3 separate regions of the Homo sapiens genome follow, and all the other regions are linked to region 1. Evidence: promoter capture Hi-C in human tissues and cell types (Jung and others, 2019). All regions are on one chromosome and are shown on one strand. The core of a region is centred on a gene start or on the middle of the fragment in contact, and the rest is flanking DNA. Distances in the headings are between cores, read along the strand shown. Region 1 holds the start of NLGN1 (neuroligin 1). Region 2 overlaps NLGN1 (neuroligin 1). Region 3 overlaps NLGN1 (neuroligin 1).

Region 1 (2,700 bases), core at 107-2,606:
ATCTGTGGTGCTTTTCATTTTGGATTTACATGCAGGAAACGTATATATGTTTATATACCGACCGCATAATATATAAATACATATACGCGTGCCCAAGGGCCTGGTTTTCGTCTCTCCTCCCCACGAAACGGAATGTTTTGGAGCCGATGGATAACAAGAACACTATTAACATTCTTTTGAGCCTGTTTTTTAAAAGGGGGAGGGAGCGTGAAGAATTGTTTAACATTTGGCCATCGTTTGGCTGCACACTAAGCACCACGAAGTATTTATGGTTGCAGATCAGGTGCAAACGGGGCTTAGAGAGAAAGGTAAGGGAGCTTCCTGCGTCCGCCGAGCTCCGGCGTTTACCTTAATCCCGGGGATTGCCGAGAACTTCCTATTCCCTGCCTCTCCTTCGCCTTCCCCACCTTCCACCCACCCTTCTCTGCTCTCTCTCTTCTGTAAACTCAACCCTTTTCCAATCCCATTGGGGTGGGGGTGGGGGGTGCTGGAGGTATAATCGTCTATTTGAGTTTAAATGCGTCTCTCTTTCCCAGGCTAGTAGCTGAGTTTTCCAATAGCCTTTCTGGCGGTTTTAGGAAATCGTGTCCTTTATAAAAAATAATGCTACCTAAATAAGTGTTTTAAACATCTGAAGATGCCAGTCCCTCACCCTATCCTCTGATGAAAATAAAAGCAATAAAAAATAATGAACTTTAATAAACTGGGTGGTTTTTTTTAAGCGTTGGGGTTCATGGAAGCTCCCAAACGCTTTTTTTCATTTAAAAAGAAAGATAACCAGCAAACAAACCAATCTCAGGAGGAGTCCACAGTGGAGGAGATTCGCCTTCCGTTTCTGCATAAAACCAATACATTTTACTTGGAGGGTAATTTGCCAGAGTTGAGCGAGACGAAGCCGTGTCTAAATAAGTACATGACACTAAATTTCCTTTTAAATCCACCTTTTACACCATGGCCAGTCGCTTGTTTAACTCCCGTTCAAGGGACACGGTTTTCAAACGTGACCTTTTGGGGAGATGTGGGAACTTCCCCTCATTTCTTCTTCTGTGCCGCTAACCTCTTTCCTCCTCCGCGCGGCATCTCCAGCCCCGGCAGTTTGTAAATTGCCCGTTTTGCCCACCCTCCTGGTGGGCGTTCTCTCCCCCACTCCACTCCTGCCCCCTCTGTCCTTTCTTCATTGGCGTCTTCGGAGCAGATGCATCTTCTTTCTTCTTGGCCTCACTCTCCCGTTCCCCCGTCAGTCCCCCCACCCGCGGCTCCCCACTTGCCCCAGCTCTCCTCGCCGCTCCTCCCCGCCTCCCCGCGGAGGGTTGACCCTTCAATTCGGAGTCCCGGCCTGTGGGCGGGCGGGGGAGCGCCGCGGCTGTAAGCCGAGGATCAGGCGGCGGCGCGGAGAGCGCGCCCGGGCGGCCAGCGCCGAGCGCGCGGAGCTGGCGTGGGGAGACACGGCAGGAAAGGCGAGTCGGAGTGGGTGATGAGAGGCCGGGAGAGCCCGTCCGAGCCGGAGAGACCGGAGAGAAGGGAGCGAGCGACTGTGCGGCGCTCACGCTGCCAGAGCCCGGGCGGAGTGCAGTCGCCTCCAAAGCCTTAGAGCGGCGCCCCAGTCACTGCAGCTCTTCACCCTAGAGCTGTGCCCTGGGACCACAGAGACCAAGAGCATGGAAATCGGCTGAGAGGTACAAAAGAAATAAGGAACAGATTACGAGAAAGCGGGGAGGGTTTCCTGGCGAAATACGGAGGCTGAGCAGATGGAGGAACAATGCCGCCTCCAGAAGAAAACCCTTGCCTGAACCCTCGGCGGAGCGCAGAGGAGCTGCTTTCAGCCTTCTGCTCTCCCCAGGCCCTCCGGCTAGTTCTGGGGTTGGTTCCGCCGGTTAGTTTGACAGGGATAAGAAAGTTGCTCTTCTTCCCCACAACGTTTCCTGAGAGGTGGTTTTCAGATCTGTGTGTTTCCAGTCAAGATGTCACTCCCTAGATCCCCCGCGTTGAGCAACTAATATATTATGCATTATTGGGCAATAAACTCTCCTGGGAAGAGAAGGTATTCCAAACATTTAAACCGTTCTCCACCGACTCCTGCCCGCCTCAACACAATGCCTTGTGAGTAGAAATGAAAAACCACCTGAATTTAAAATTATTTAGGTTGAGATTTTGCATTGGGAATAATTTCTTCCAGAGGAGGTTGTTAGTGTGTTATAGAGATGAGGGATATTACATGTCCAATATTTGATTCATTTGTGATAATTCTAAATCATGAACAGTTGGCCTCCACAAAGGTACTATTTCTTTTTGCATTTCCAGGGCCATAGTGATACATATAACACTTGGGAAACGTGAATTCGTATAGTTAACCCAGTATCTGTTACTCTGCATTTTTACAGGTAGTTAATATACTCATTTTCCCTCTTTTTATACTCAAACTCCGGTAGACTATTTTTGCTTAAGTCAATTGAGTTGTCATGCTGTACATGAAAATTACAGGGTCTTAATGCATTTCTCACCATTAATTGTGCTCAATTATTAATAGGATCATAGATATTAAAATGTCACTGAGAAAGGGTATGTGTACCTATGTTTGAGTGTAAAACCTATAAAATGTCTCAGCATTTCTATCAGCCATTGTAACCTAGCAGAACACAAGGTTTTTGAAATGAGCTCAGAAGCAAGGGCCATTCATATATTTAAAATATTAAATGTTAA
Region 2 (2,700 bases), core at 77-2,576, 520 kb after region 1:
ATTCTTACAAAGCAACATTGTGTGTGTGTGTGTGTGTGTGTGTGTGTTGGCCTTTATCTGGATTTATTGTTGATGAATGGCTTGATTTTAAATCAACAGGCTATGGTTCAAACCATTTCACTTCCTTTCAGTTTGTCCATTTGTAAGTTAAACTTTTAAATTCAGTCCCTTTTCTGTAAAACTGCAGTAAGAACACGTACCTCTAAGGCTGTTTTATGAATTAAATAAGATAATGTATGTAAGATGGTTATCATATTGGCACATATTAAGTATTCAGTCAATTATAGTACTTGTTCTTATTATTTATTAATAGAAGTAATGCATTCGTTACTTATTAATATCTTCCAAAGCTTGAACTTTGTAGTTCTTTAAACGTATTTATGTGAAATCTTAACTGTGCTTACTTAATGCTTCATTAAGTGTTGCAACATGAAATGACCTCACTATTATTAAGTATCATTACAGTTCTCTGTAGCTTGCTACACATCTACAAAAGGTATCAAACACCGGAATTTTAAAATGCATAGAATGGGCCGGGCGCGGTGGCTCACACCTGTAATCCCAGCACTTTGGGGGGCCGAGGCAGGCAGATCACGAGGTCAGGAGTTTGAGACCAACCTGACCAACATAGTGAAACTCTATCTACTAAAAATACAAAGATTAGCGCCATGCGGCAGCGTGTGCCTGTAGTCCCAGCTACTCGGGAGGCTGAGGCAGGAGAATCACTTGAACCTGGGAGGTGGAGGTTGCAGTGAGCTGAAACCACACCATTGCACTCCAGCCTGGGTGACAGTGAGACTCCATCTCAAAAAAAAAAAAAAAAAAAAGAAATACATATGTGTGTGTGTGTGTGTGTGTGTGTGTGTGTGTGTGTGTGTGTATATATATATATTGCATAGAATGGTAACGTCTTCTAGTCCATTTATTGCCTTTATTGAGTGTATCAGTTTCCCATTGCTGTTGTAACAAATTACCACATATTTAGTGTTATAAAACAACATAAATTTATTATTTTATAGTCCTAAAATCAGTGTGTCTACAGGATTGCATTACATTTGGTGGCTCTAGTAGAGAATCTATTTTCTTGCCTTTTCTATCTTCTAGGGGCTACCTGCATTCCTTGGCTAGTTCCTCTGCTGGTTTTGAATAAACTAGCAGTCCAGCATGTTCAGATTTCAATTTCTGTCTCTGATTTTGCTTCAGTCACCACATCTTTTATCCTGATTCTCACTCTCCTACCTCTCTCCTTTTCTTACAAGGACTCCTGTGATTATATTGAGTCCACTTGGATAATCCAGGATAATCTCTATATCTCAAGATCCTTAACTTAATCATATCTGCAAAATCTGACAAATGTATTTGTAACGTAACATATTCAAGATTCTGGAGATTAAGACTCAGACATCTTTGGGAGGCCATTTTGTATCTGCTACAGAGAATATGAAGGAAAAAGCTGTTTATCCCCTTGAGGACATAAAGGACATATTAAGGAAAAGATTCAAGTTTACTGTTGTTCATATTTTACTTTACAAGCATATTTCAAAGAGGACAGAGCAGAAAAAAATTTTCTTGGGTTTTTACCATATGACAGAATCCATGTGAGATAATTTACACAATTTCATTAAATTGTCTAAGCCACACTCACTTTATTAGGAAGGTTCCATTAGCCACATTTCACAGAAGAGGAAACAGGACTCCTAGAAAAATTTGTCCAAAATCATCCAGCTAATGGTAGAGTTAAGAATTTGAAATAAGCCTGGCCAATTCCAAAATCCACACTCTTAACTAGGTCATGCTCTGTCTATAACTCATTGTATCTTAGCTAGAACAGTTTAAAAGAATTCCTAAAATATGGATAAAATATTTAAGGATTTCTATATTATATTAAATGGCTAATTGTACATTTTACTCATGTTTTTATCTTCTGTTGAACTAAAAATGAAAAACATGCAAACAAAAAATGTTCTAGTAGATATATAGCTATTAAATATGCACAGTTTTGCTATAGAGAAGACTCATTTTTCTTTCTTAATAAATAATAGACATTTTTCTAAAAGTTTTATAAATCTTAACATATATGCAATCAATATTTAAAATATTAACATGGATACTGAAGAGCTTTGTACTTAATTTAATCAAAGGAGAATGCTGGGATGCTATTTTTTAAAAAAATATTTTAGTCATAGGACTTTAGATTGCAAACTGCCCAGAGCAGGGTTGAGAGAGACATTGAGAAAAAAGGAGCAAACCTAGTATCTTGAGAAACTGAAAATTCTAATGTTGATCTTCAGGCTGAAAGGGCAGACTAGATACAGATACTCTGAGGCCACTTATTTGAGATAGAAATAAAAAAGGCTTGGATTATCTCTTATGGTTATCAAGTGTTCTAGCCTACTACTAGACTAGATTACTGCATATGAAGTACCAAATAAGTGGCCCTTTGGATTGAATGATTCATTGACTCCTAAAGCAGGTGTGTTAGAAAGAAAGCACAAATGTAAACGTTATATTGCCATTGACTGTGCTCATAAAATAATGAAAACTATGATAATATAATTTGTTTTCTTCAGATTTGGGCCATATCTTGTATCACATCATATAAGAAAAATAGAAGACACAGTCTGGCACAAAGTTTACTCAAATGTCACAGGTGCAGATTGTTCTTGGTTGAAGGGACAGATGCTACCATAACACCTACCA
Region 3 (2,700 bases), core at 67-2,566, 740 kb after region 1:
TTATACTGAAGGACTAAGAAACCAGTCTCATGGTGGGTGCCCAAAATGACATTACATGAAGAGGCTGAAGCATGTGAAGTAGTGAGAGAAACTTGATTCTTCTTGGTATTTCTACATAGCCCCCCAAAAGCCTGCAACTTCAAGATAAATGACTTGAAGCTGGATAGTGTGGACCCTGGCAATTCTGAGGAAACTCTCGTATGCCACCAGGAAAGTAAGGACTGGATCAATTTCTCATACACAGTTAAATGCGACCTGACCAGTGGAGACACAAGTGGGTGCCCAGGTAAAAGCAGAGGCGAAGGTCTAATTCCATATTCCCAGATATCCAGCAAATTTTTGGAAGCATATGCAAGAAAGATTAAGGCTGTGCCTTTCTACTGTATTCCTGGAGGAGCTGGCACCCTGTCTGATATTTATGCTTCCTTTTCAGAAACAATTGTAGGTACTTCTGACATAGAAAAAAACCCCGCAATTTAGTGTTCTGCCAAAGTTCTGAGATTATTAAAACCATTTTCCTAATGTCTTTATTATAATACCTATCATTCTGATCATCCCACGTGTAACACTATTGTTTCTTAAGATTTCTAATGCATCTTAATCAGACATTTGGTATCCTAAATTAACCATTATTGAGGCAATTTCATGGAGGTTGTATTTCTCAGAATCTTTATTTTAAATAGTTTATTAGGTAAATGTCTGAAAATACTGAGCAAACTGATAAGGTAAAAAACATTTGTTTTTATTTTTTGACAAATGAAATTGTAAGTAGTTAGCTAGAACATACGATAGAATTGTTTTTGGTTACATCCTAATGATAGGCAGAGGACATAAAGGTGTAACATGTTTCAAGGTAAACAGTTAAATATGCTCGAAAGGGAGCAGTAGTTGTCTAGAGAATATGTGGCTTAAAGCAAATATTTTTCTAACCCTCGAGAGATGTTAATGATTCCTATTAATAACACAGATAAATCTTTGAAATAACAAGCTTTTTTATTCACTCTAGTTTTTAGTAAATGGGTTTGAAGTGCTAACAGTTTTGACTTTTAAAAGAATATTTGGTTATTTCCAGATCTTCTGTGTAACAGAATTTACATATTTACAGTAGTTGAAATATGACCTAATAGAATACCAGGGAATACAGGATCCAGTGCTGGAATCGTCACTGTGGTCATTTGATACTTAGTTTAACTAAAATAAAAATTGAATTTTATATACTGCTATGTACGTGAGACAAAATTTACCGATCAAGAACTATCTTGACTAAGTAATTCCTTATTATTTTAAGCTAGTACTTTTAGGAAAAGCCATTTTTAAGATTCAGACCCAGATCAAATCTGGTGAAATAATAAAATGGGAACTATTATTACTGTAGCATTGAAAATTGAGATTCAATAAGTAAAAAGTGACTACTATTTGCAGGCCGCTGTTATTAAATTTTAAAATTCTACCTCTCGCTTCTTCTTTCTGCCTGAACATGGCTTAATTTATCTTCTAATATGTTTAAAGCCATGCATGCTTGTGGAGGGCTTTGATCTTTGCTTCCTCTGGAAATAATTTTGAAATTGCAAGATTGGAACAGTCCTCAATTTCTGAACATCTGCAGCAGGATACAATAGATATAGGTTACAAAAGATGTTTGTAAGTTCCAAAAATACATATCTGATATATTGGTGGAATGTTCACATTAATATTAAGAACAGGAAAATAAAAGGCACATAGCAATACATACTATTGGGTGTTTGTTACCCCCACTTTCAGATACTGTAGGAAATAACTACATTTGAATAAATACTTCAGCCTGTTTCCATGACCCTATCCCTAAACTGATACGCTTCAGTATTATTAAATTGGGACTTAGGTCATTGTTTTGTGAGGTCACAAAGCCATATAAGATATAGGAGAAAATTGACACTTACTGGGTGGGCAGAGCAACATTGTTTTGACAGTGAAAATTACCAATTTATAATTTTTTAAGAAAAGCATGCCTAGCACAGACCACCTGATTACCAAGAGGAAGCTGAAGAGGAGATTCTACTAGAGGTAAGGAAGAGATATTGTTTTCTTGACTCTGTTCATTAGGTTCAGGGTAAGCAACTCTATTTACCAAGAATAAGCTAGCTCTCTTTCATTTGAAAATATGTCTGCCCAGGTAGGCCTGCAGACATAACAATGTTAAAAACAGGTAGCTTTATTGCAGCACTTATCAGTACCTTGACTATTCAAAGGTGTTAATATGCCAGGTTTCCCAAAGTAATTAATTTTTATCTTACAGAATATTTGTTCCATTTACATAGTTTGGGAAACACAGCCATAAATGTTACAGATGCTCCTTGACTAATGATGGGGTTGCATTTCAATAATGCCATCATAAGTTGAAAATACCGTAAATGGAAAGTGCATTTAATACATCTAACCTACCAAACATAGCTTAGCCTAGCCTATCTTAAGCATGTTCAAAACACTTACATTAGTCTACAGAGGCAAAATCATCTAACAAAAAGCCTATATATATGATAAGGTGTTGAATATCTCATGTAATTTATTGACTACCGTGCTGAAAGTGAAAAACAGAATGGTTATAAGGACACTCACCATTAACATTCGCAGTTGAAACCACCATTGCAAAGTTGAAAAATCATAAGTGGAACCATCCTAAATTGAGGACTGTCTGTATTTTCTTGGATATTTCCTGAAATA

What was found. The method cuts DNA at HindIII sites, captures the fragments that hold promoters and counts their contacts. A contact is called where the count stands out against the background at its distance.
Region 2: a fragment that was not itself captured here is called in contact with the fragment with the promoter of NLGN1 in region 1 in 2 of the 25 tissues and cell types used here (H1 embryonic stem cells and hippocampus).
Region 3: a contact is called between a fragment that was not itself captured here and the fragment with the promoter of NLGN1 in region 1, in 1 of the 25 tissues and cell types used here (IMR-90 fibroblasts).

The regions. Positions count from the first base shown.
Region 1 is chr3:173,396,388-173,399,087 of GRCh38, forward strand. NLGN1 (neuroligin 1) reads left to right here and starts at 1,357. Exons shown (of 7, transcript NM_001365925.2): 1 at 1,357-1,676. RefSeq lists an enhancer at 1-125. The HindIII fragment of the contact is 5,603 bases long and covers 1-2,700 here.
Region 2 is chr3:173,917,824-173,920,523 of GRCh38, forward strand. All of the region lies in intron 4 of NLGN1 (neuroligin 1), which reads left to right. All of the region lies in intron 1 of NLGN1-AS1 (NLGN1 antisense RNA 1), which reads right to left. Among named protein-coding and RNA genes, the nearest start is that of NLGN1-AS1, 1.6 kb to the right of the region's middle. The HindIII fragment of the contact is 4,640 bases long and covers 1-2,700 here.
Region 3 is chr3:174,134,538-174,137,237 of GRCh38, forward strand. All of the region lies in intron 4 of NLGN1 (neuroligin 1), which reads left to right. Among named protein-coding and RNA genes, the nearest start is that of NLGN1-AS1, 220 kb to the left of the region's middle. The HindIII fragment of the contact is 7,394 bases long and covers 1-2,700 here.